2 separate regions of the Homo sapiens genome follow, and region 2 is linked to region 1. The links are contacts of gene promoters, found by promoter capture Hi-C in blood cells and fetal thymus (Javierre and others, 2016). All regions are on one chromosome and are shown on one strand. Each heading gives the region's core, a stretch centred on a gene start or on the middle of the fragment in contact. The rest is flanking DNA. Distances are from core to core; before and after follow the strand shown. Region 1 holds the start of TPM2 (tropomyosin 2). Region 2 holds the start of VCP (valosin containing protein).

Evidence for each region. The method cuts DNA at HindIII sites, captures the fragments that hold promoters and counts their contacts. A CHiCAGO score of 5 or more calls a contact.
Region 2: the fragment with the promoter of VCP here is called in contact with the fragment with the promoter of TPM2 in region 1 in 1 of 17 cell types (monocytes); the score reaches 5.0 in monocytes.

What each region holds. Positions count from the first base shown.
Region 1 is chr9:35,687,823-35,692,791 of GRCh38, reverse strand. It overlaps TPM2 (tropomyosin 2), which reads left to right and starts at 2,867. Exons shown (of 9, transcript NM_003289.4): 1 at 2,867-3,088; 2 at 3,521-3,646. The coding sequence starts at 2,975. RefSeq lists a silencer at 1,450-1,529 and an enhancer at 4,425-4,902. The HindIII fragment of the contact is 4,032 bases long and covers 774-4,805 here.
Region 2 is chr9:35,069,165-35,074,133 of GRCh38, reverse strand. It overlaps VCP (valosin containing protein), which reads left to right and starts at 1,509. Exons shown (of 17, transcript NM_007126.5): 1 at 1,509-1,797. The coding sequence starts at 1,781. It overlaps FANCG (FA complementation group G), which reads left to right. Exons shown (of 14, transcript NM_004629.2): 14 at 1-295. The coding sequence ends at 26. RefSeq lists enhancers at 942-991, 1,012-1,151, 1,352-1,401 and a silencer at 1,802-2,431. The HindIII fragment of the contact is 17,727 bases long and covers 1-4,969 here.

The DNA.
Region 1 (4,969 bases), core at 1,618-4,117:
TCTGTTGTGAGACAGGATTTTCTTCATATGTCTCAGTAACCAACATATAGCAACAGATCAAATATGGAAGGAGATATTGATAATACAGCTGTCCCCTTGGAAGCCAGAGAGTAAAGAGATTCGTAAAAATGTAAAATAATTTCCATACTCTCATTAATTCGGGGAATGGGAATATAGTTATCTTTCATTTAGAACATTATGTTAACATGATTAATGTGTAATGAGTTTATTTTTGTTATTTTTAACGAATTGATACATATTTAAAATTTTTCTCAAGTTTCATTTTAATATGGCAACTATTGGTAGATATAACCCACTTCAACAAAAAAGCTGTTTGGGGGTCTTCAATACTTTTTAAGAGTGTAATGGGTTCTAAGACCAAAAGACCCACACCGTATTAGTATATTTGATAAGTACCCAGAAACTGGTACATAAAAAACTCATCTGGCAAATGTTCATGAAGTGCCAACTCTATGCCTGGTGCTGTGATAGGCCTTGGGGATTCAGAATTGAGAACAGTCGTTTCTGTTGAGGACTCACAGACCGGCGGAGGCGCCAAACCGGTATAAGAACAGTTATACCATGGGACTAGGATGAGGGTGAGAGCCCGCACCAAGAACACGCACCTATTAGGTGAGGCGGTGGGAAGAGAAGTGGCCAGGGAAGGCTTCCCAGAAAAGCTGACACTTACTGAGTCTTAAAGGCCACCAGGAATCAGCCAAGGGGATGGGCATTTTAGGGAGAGAGAACAGAATGCATAAACTGTGGAAGCTTTAAGAAAAGTATGGCTATTTCCAGCTCCTGCACGTAGCTCATTATGAATGCAGCATGAGGTACAAGTATGAATACTGGGGGTGAGGTTGGGCATGGAAGGAGATGAGGCCAGAGAGGCAGGCAACAGCCAAAACAACGGGCCTTCTATACCATATTAAGAAATGTGGATTTTTTTTTTCTCCTCAAAACAGGCAGGGTGCCCGCACGCCTGTAATCCCAGCTACTCAGGAGGCTGAGTCGGGAGGATCACTTAAGCCCATAAGTTCAAGACCAGCCTGGGCAATCTAGCAAGCTCCCGTCTCAAAAAAGGTGGGGGGACAGGGATTAGGGAGGGGTTTTGGAGAATTTTAGATAATATTCGCATTAACTTTTAAAAAGATATTTGACAACAATGTCATGGGACAGTCAAATGAATGAATGAGTTGAGGAACTAGAAGTAAGACTACAAAACAGACTGAAGAAAACATAAGGCGCGGCCAGAGGCCAGCCCAGACCGACCCGAGGAGGAACCTCCTTGGTAGAAGGCAGCCTCTCCAGGATTAGGTGGTTGTGAGACGCGAAGGGCAGGGGATACCCAGTGGTCTAGCATAGGCTACTGGTGGATGAGGCGTCTTCCACGGAGTTAGAGGAACACTGCGAGGTCAGGCCAGGGTTGCTCTCCGTGTGGCTAGCAGGCAGCTAAACAGATCTGAATGCATTTCCACGCCACCTCCCCACCGCCCCGGCCAGCGGCCTCGGGTTCCCACGGTCCCCAGCCCACTGCAAAATCCAGGCCTCCCGCCCCTCTATGACTGGAGGGTGGGGGCGAGGCTAGCAGCTCCCTCCCGGCTTCCTCCGCTTGTTCTCTCCTCCCCTTCCCCCTCCTCCCGGCGGCTCTCCACTTCCTTTCCCCCCACCCCACCCCAGGGAAAAACGAAAACAAACACCCTCGCGCCTCGCGCCTCCGACTCCCAGACCCCACGACCCGGCTCCGGCGCTGGTTTGGCGGCCTGGGTGGGAGAAGGCACCTCGCCCCGGACCCCCTATGCCCCGCAGCTCAGTGACTCTTCCCCTCGCCCTCCGCCTTCCCCGCCGCAGCCCGGCTCCGCCTCCCAATGGGGAAACATCCCAAAAAAGGGCAGAAAAGAAATTTCAGCATAAAGTTGGCCCACTGGGAAAGAGAGGAGCGTCCGCGGGGAGCGGGGGAGAAGAGGGAAGGCGCGCGGAGGGGAGTGGGGCCAGGCGGAGCCAGGGGCGGGGAGCGGAGGGGCTCGGGACGCGTCCGGGTGGGAGCGGGGGCGGGGAACGCGCGGTGACCAGCCTGGCCGCAGCCGCGTGGAAAATATGCGGGGCACGTGGGGGGCGGGGCGGGGAGCTGGGTCCTGAGCCGCCGGGTGCTCGCAGGAAGGGCCTGGCTCCAGGGGCAGGGGCTGGGAGGGGAGGCGAGGGGATGAGAGGTCAGGCCGGTCCTGGGGGCAGCAAGCCCGGCCACACTCCCCACCGCGACCGGGGCTCTGGGCTCGCTTCCTGCTTCAGTTTCCCCAAGCTCCCGATGAGACTCCGCTACTACCACCACGTCGATAACGCAAACCTAGAGGGACTCAGGGTAAACTGAGGCACTCAAACTGCCGAGGAGCTCCGCCTCCCGAGAGACATTTAATCCGGGGGGATTTGCAGGAAACTTCTAAATTAAGGGTAGCGGCTGCTGCAGCTGAGGGGGGGCACGCCGGTCCCTGCGCCCGGGCAGCTGCCGTGAGCTCACGCCCCGAAATAGCCCCAGGGGCCCCAGCCGCAGCTGCCACTGGGTCCGGCTGTCACTCAGAGGAAGCACGGAGCCCCCAGCCCAAGGGTCCCCTCCCCTTCGCATCGCCGGGGTTTTTCCAGCCGACCGTCGGCCACTTTTTCCTCCGACGGCTGGCAGGGAAGAGGGGGATGGGGGCGGGACCCCAAGGGAGGCGGTCCCCAGTGGGTGGGCGAAGGGGGCGGCCGCACCCCCCGGCCGGGCCGTGCTTCTGCCCCTACAAGGTTTGGGCCGAGGTGGGGGAGGGTCCTGGTTGCCGGCCCCGCCCGGTCCCTCCCCGCCTTTTAGGCGCCCGCGTGGCCGGGACGTCCCAGTCCCGCTCCGTCCTCCTCGCCTGCCACCGGTGCACCCAGTCCGCTCACCCAGCCCAGTCCGTCCGGTCCTCACCGCCTGCCGGCCGGCCCACCCCCCACCGCAGCCATGGACGCCATCAAGAAGAAGATGCAGATGCTGAAGCTGGACAAGGAGAACGCCATCGACCGCGCCGAGCAGGCCGAAGCCGACAAGAAGCAAGCTGAGGACCGCTGCAAGCAGGTTAGGGCCGGGCCCAGTGCAGCCTGCTCTCCCCGCGCCTAGGGCAAGGGTGGGCCGCTGCCATGGGTCCCCCAGCCCCGGGCCTGCCCGCCAAGGCTCTCTCTCACCCAGGGTGGGGGCTGGGCCTTCGCAGTACCCTCAGGGCCTTCGCCAGAGCCGCTTCTCTCCCCTACAATAGCCTGGGGAAGCCCCAGGCCCCTGGTTTCCACTCTGCCTTTGCAGAGCGCGGTTGGTCCTGCTCCTTGGGGCCTGAAGTTTTCTCTGTACCCTCAACGGGTCCCACCAGTACCCTTGACTGTACTGTCCCTTTTATGTTATTCCGCTTCCATCCCAGTAGCCTCCAAATCTTAGTAGCGCCCCTACACACACCGCGTCTCCATTCTGGGCCTGGGCCCCCTCCCAGCCTGGCTGACCAAGTCCCCTCTGTCCCAGCTGGAGGAGGAGCAGCAGGCCCTCCAGAAGAAGCTGAAGGGGACAGAGGATGAGGTGGAAAAGTATTCTGAATCCGTGAAGGAGGCCCAGGAGAAACTGGAGCAGGCCGAGAAGAAGGCCACTGATGTGAGTGTGGACTTGGGGGACAATGGGAGGAGTTAGGGCTCTGGGAAGGGGCCCCCCGGGTATGGGAATAAGAGGATTGGGGCACCTTATCCCCTTATGTCCCCAGCGCCAGGAGAGAAATGGTTTCATCTCAGTAACCAGGGCTAGGGTAAACTTACACAAGTAATCCAAGACAGTGGATAAATCAAAACCACCTACCACTTCCCCCAGAGGACTTAGCCCTGTAATTCTGTTTGGTTCCAGCTTTTAGAATGTACAGTGATCAAGCAATGAGTCATTGTGGGGGTGGAAGGTATAAGAATTTACCATCTACCTCAATTAATCCTCCAGCTGAAATTGGAGAGGAGACTGCAGCCGTTTGGGGATGGGGGGATGTGGATGTGAGGTACTAGCCTGCAGGAGGAGGGAGAGGGATCCAGAGATGAGACCCCACTTGAGTTACAACCCTAAGGGGCCATTAGAAATTCCCTGGCCTTGACCTCTGGCTTCAGCAGCCCTGCTGTGCCCTGGGGCCCCAGCTCAGGTTCTAATGGCTCCTCATTTACCCTCATTAAGCTGTCAGCCTGGAGACCATGCCAGGCCACAGGGCAGAGGGACAGGGCCACAAATGCCAAAGCAGCTACCTTGGCAGGTCATTTACCCTGAGATTTCTCTGCCCACCCCACAACCCCAACCAGACTTCACTTCCTGCCATTCCCAACCCCCAGCTTAAGGTAGGAGAATGGCCATATGGCTTTGGTGTGGTGGTAGTTTCCCCATTCTCTGCCTCAGTTTCCCCATCTTCCTTCCACCCAGGATTGTTTTAAGATGAACCTATGGTTAGATTAGCATAAAGCATGGTCTGAACATCAGAGATGACATAGCTGTTTGTGTCGACTGCTCATGTTCCCAGCCCCCCAGGGGTTGGGCTTCTGTGACCTCCAGCCTCCAGTTTTGGTTCTCCACCAGTCCTGGCACTTGGGAGGGAGCTGACCTGCAGCTGCTAGCACAGACAACCCTGGGCATCTGACACTCTATAAATAACCAAGGCCCAGTGCAGCTGGAGGCAAGATTGGAAACCCAAGTTGCTGGTGGGGGCTGGAGGGGCAGGGGGGACAGGGACAGAGCTGGGGAGGCAGAGCCGCAGCACCAGGAGCAGATAGGAAAGACTGCCCAAGCTTCCTGGTGACCTTGAACACAGCACTCAACTTACATGGTGCCTCAGTTTCTCCCTCTCTCTTGCTTCCCATTTTTCTAATGGGGACAGTAGTGCCTGTCCTGTGGTTAGAGAGCCGCCCCCGTAACTGGGAAGAGCTTGAGAGGCAGGAAATGGCACATATCAGT
Region 2 (4,969 bases), core at 260-2,759, 620 kb after region 1:
CTCTGCCAAAGTCTTGTGACCTGTAGCTGCCACGTTTTGAAGAGCTTGAGCTGGGTCCCCAGTGGGCTGTCTCTCTGTGGGGAGGGCTTTCTGCTTCACCATCATTAGGAATGTGACCATTCCTATATAATTCCTGGACTGGTGAGATTGGTGGTAGGCCTGTGAAATTTGCCCTAGTTACTACCATTCTCGTTTTGGAGGAAACAATCTCTGCCACCACCAAGTCATTGACTTTGCTCGAGGCACCTTTTTTCCTGTTTCTCCTTTTCTGTTGTCGAGTAAAATTTCATATTTATCTCGTCTGCCTACTACATATACTTGCGTGGGAAGGCTTGTGACCGTCTAGTTGAGTGCTAGTTGTCTATGATGCCCTTTCCTGACATCGTCTACCTTATGAACTTGAAGTCTGGGTATGAGGAAAGGGCTACAGGAATCCTCACTTTGGAGGCAGTGGCTTTAGTCCTTCACATTGCCTGAATGCAGAGCCCCAAAGCCCAGGACAGTGACAATGAGTGGAGTTGGGTCTGAAGGGTGGTCTAGATAGGCCTCTCAGGACAAGGGCAGGTACCTGTTACTTAGAGACAGGCAGGTTTCTCTCAGAGTAACTCTTCACTCCCTTCCTAATTCCAAATTCTAGAAATTCGACTCGTCTTAGTCAAATGTGTCTGTGTGGGTACAGGGTGAAAGGTGAATTGAGTCAGCATATCACCAACAGCTGCCTGTTGACTACTAACAGGGACCCCTGTTATTTGGGGCCCAAGGATTTTCAAGTCCCAGCATATGCAGTTTTCTTGCTAATTTGGGTTCTACTGAATTGGCTGTGTGTTCTGTGGTTGCCCTTTGACTTCTCTGGATTTGAGTGCCTTATTATAAGGTATTAATATTAATGACGGGAGGAAGAAAGGCACAAGCGCTGAGAAACTGCAAAGGCTGTGGGATTGGGGTTACCAGAGGGTGCAGTGACAATGGGGTAGGAGTGGGGTGCTAGTCAGAAAGTTCAGAGTAGGGGTGGTTGGAGGCAGCGTTGAGAAGGAGCAAGAAGTGTCAGGGTGGTGATGGCGTCTTAGAAGATCTCCAGGTTTTGGGAGAAGATGGGTGTATGGGTTACCACAATAGGACTAGACTAATACAAGGGTTCAGTCTATTGTGCCACGTTCTTCCAGGAGGATAAACTCCGGAGCCAATGAACTGGAGCCAAGTGGGAGAGTCCGCCTCTAAGGGATTAAAGGGTCTCCTTTCACTAATCGATCTCGCCCTATTCCTTTCGTTGATTGGCTGAGAATTCCAATCCGTCGAGGAAGCGTAGCGTTGCGGCCAATTGACGTGGCGTTACTAGGCGTGTCGCATCACTGAGGCGGGAGCCAGGCCGCAAGCGAATTTCCTGATTGGCTGTGATCTGCGGGTTGCTGGGGAGAGGCGCGGAGAGGCGGGCGAGAGTCCGCAGGGCAGGCGCTGATTGGCTGAGGTGGGAGCAGCTTCCCTTCCGATGATTCGGCTCTTCTCGGCTCAGTCTCAGCGAAGCGTCTGCGACCGTCGTTTGAGTCGTCGCTGCCGCTGCCGCTGCCACTGCCACTGCCACCTCGCGGATCAGGAGCCAGCGTTGTTCGCCCGACGCCTCGCTGCCGGTGGGAGGAAGCGAGAGGGAAGCCGCTTGCGGGTTTGTCGCCGCTGCTCGCCCACCGCCTGGAAGAGCCGAGCCCCGGCCCAGTCGGTCGCTTGCCACCGCTCGTAGCCGTTACCCGCGGGCCGCCACAGCCGCCGGCCGGGAGAGGCGCGCGCCATGGCTTCTGGAGCCGAGTGAGTGTGCGCGCGCCGTTCGCTTGCTGCGGCGGCGCGCACCGGGACCAGCCGCGCAGGGTAGGCCCGGCGGGGCCTGGCCGTGGGCGCGTCAGAGAGGTGGAGACCAGGAAAGAGGGAAGGGAAGCTAGGGGGCGAGTGAGGGGCCGTGGACCCGGCAGGCCCGGCTGGGGCCAGCTGCGCACCCGCGCGCCCCCTAGGCGGGGCTTGCGTTGGGTCCGGGTCGGAGCCTGGGCCGGATCGTGCTGTGTCATGCAGGCCCCGGCCCGCCCGATTGGCTCCCTTAGAACGGACGTCTGGGCCTGGCCAGGTCTTCCGGCCCACTCCGCCGGCGCGGCGCCCCGGGGCTTTGGGGCGCCAGTCTGCCGTCCGGCCTACCACCCGCCGAAAGCCTTTGGTCCCCGGAGAGAGCAGGCCCCGCGAGCCCGAGGCCCCAGCCGGGCCCGGTGGGCGTGGACTTTGCGCCATGTGAAGGCCTCAGGAGCTCTGCCACCGAGGCGGAGCCCGGGGTCGGGGAAGGCCCGCCGAGCTCAGGGAAGCTCACAGCCGCCTTTTTGGAGCCGGGTCGGCGGGGCCGGAGGTGGGCATCCTCTGTGTGTGACCTGAGTCGTGAAGGACTGTTAGGGAGAGGGCGAGCCCTACCTTTCGCTTCTGGTCTTCTTACTTTAGGCCTGTTGTTCATACTAGAAAGTTTGAGCCAGTTTTCCTTAATGTTATGACTCGTGGGTGGGGAGAAAGGAATTTTTCTTTAACATTTTAGGTTCTTGCTAAAGTTGGAATCTCAGTTCGTGTTTTGTGCGCCTTTCCAGATTTCCAGGTTTCGTGGTGTGCAGTTTAGAGTTGCACTAACTCTTCAAAAACACAAACGTGCGCGCACTCCTTTCCCCAACCAGCTATATTGAGAAATTACCCGGGCTCTGGGGCTTTCTGACCCCACCTCCATCCTTAGGAAAGCGTTAGATAAAACTTGGCTACCTCAGCCCATTCAATTTAGAATAGAGAGCTTTTAGAGGCAAAAAAAAAAAAAAAAAAAAAAAAAAAAACACAGCCAGCCCAAGGAAACTCTATGCAAATTACCTTCCTTCCTTGAAGAGATTAGTTTTTTGAGGTGTGTTCCTTTTTCTCAAGTTTCTGAATTCGGATAAAGTATTACTCAGTTGCTTATTTAAAAGAGTCACTTATTCTGAAAGTATTCTTTTGGTTTATATGCAGTCAGCCTCTTATTTTCAAAAGTAAAAATCTAAAATTCTTGGAACCTGGCATCATCAGCTGTTTCTAACCTCTTGGTCACCTTGATGACTCTTAGCTGAAACCCTTCCAAGTCCCGTGGAGTCCCCTGTGCAGTTCTGGAAAGGGATTGACTTATACAGAAGACAATGGAGGATTGCCCCAAAGAGTGTCCAGAACTGCTGTTGGCCCATGGTCAGGCCAAATTCAGTCTTTTAGAGATTACCACATCTGATCTCAGTAGGTAGATGGGGAATTAGAGGCTTTACCTTAAGAAAAGGGCATACCACTCATCTCCAGAGCCAGAGTCCGGGATGGTAGGCAGAATGGAGGTTTTCCTAGGATACAGCTTTGAGATTAAAATACAAACTATTGACCGGGCACAGTGGCTCAGGCCTGTAATCCCAGCATTTTGGGAGGCCGAGGCAGGCAGATCACTTGAGGTCAGGAGTTTGAGACCAGCCCGGGCAACATGGAGAAACCCCATCTCTATTAAAATGCAAAAAGTAGCCAGGCATGGTGATGGTGCACACCTGTAGTCCCAGCCACTCTGGAGGCTGAGACAGGAGAATCACTTGAACCCAGGGAGGCAGAGATTGCAGTGAGGGAGATCGCGCCACTGCACTCCAGCCTGGGCAACAGAGGGAGACTCCGTTTCAAAAAATAAAAAACTATGGTGACTAGAGGCATCTGGCGTTTTATTTTTCTCCAGTCCCAGTTCTATAAGTCAAGCAAGAAGATGGGCAGTCCCTGGAAGAGTATTTTGATGGGACAGGAGTGGGAGAGCTCGTGGGTTTACATTGCTCTCAACTGTCACATTGAGCATGCTTGGCCTCTAGTGTGTTGATAAGCATTGGAAGAGTCTGCCTACTCAGCAGCATTGTGCCTGGAGTGGCAGACTTTTGGAATGGGGGAAGCAAATTTGAGCAGAGGAAACTGTCGTTAGAAACTAGTTTAGAGGCAGTGGTTAAAAATGCAGCCTATGTGTGAGGGTTAGCAGAAGGCCTACCATTTTGTTAGATGAATGGGGTTTGTTTTTCTCTTGGGTGTATCAGGACCCAAAGATGTAAGAACCCCATGGCTTCCTAGCTGAGCACAGCATTTTTCTTTGTCTCTTGCAAATTGTGAGGATATTTCCAATGGGAATACTATTTTGTCTTGTTTTGTTGACTTCAGTATCCCCAGCCCTTAGAACAATGCCTGGTACATAATAGAGACTCATGAATTTGTTGAATGAAGAAATTCGTTTTAAAAATTTATTTTCTTTGCTTCCTTCATTGTCTGGCCTTCCTACTTTGGTTAATGCTTATGTTTTCCTGAGCCTTACTAACACGAGGCCGCTCTTAAAAAAGAGAGAGCGCTGGGTGCTGTGGCTCACGCCTGTAATCCCAGTACTTTGGGAGGCCGAGGTGGGCAGATCACCTGAGGTCAGGAGTTCGAGACCAGCCTGACCACCATGGTGAAACCCCATCTCTAGTAAAAATGCAAAATTAGCCAGGTGTGGTGGCGCATGCCTGTAATCCCAGCTACTCGGGAGGCTGAGGCAGGAGAATCACTTGAACCCGGGAGGTGGAGGTTGCAGTTAGCTGAGATCGCAGCATTGCATTCCAGCCTGGACAACAAAAGCGAAACTCCATCTCAAAAAAAAAAAAAAAAAAAAAAAAAGGGAGAGGGAGCTTGCTGAGTCTAGTAAGTGACAGCTGGAAACGGGCTAGGTAATAAGTTGGTGTCACTGTCTGGTGAATGATCCTAGCTTCTAGGAAATAACACTGAGTGTAGACCCAGTCGACTTTGATTTGGGTGAGAGGGATTTGGATTTGCCCCATGTCTCAGCATTTCTTGGTTTTGATTTTTTGAGCCAACTTTATGGAATTGTGTACTTTTGCAGATATTACTGTGAAGTTCCTTTTGACCTTGAGCCTCTTTCTGGCGGTTTGATGTCTGT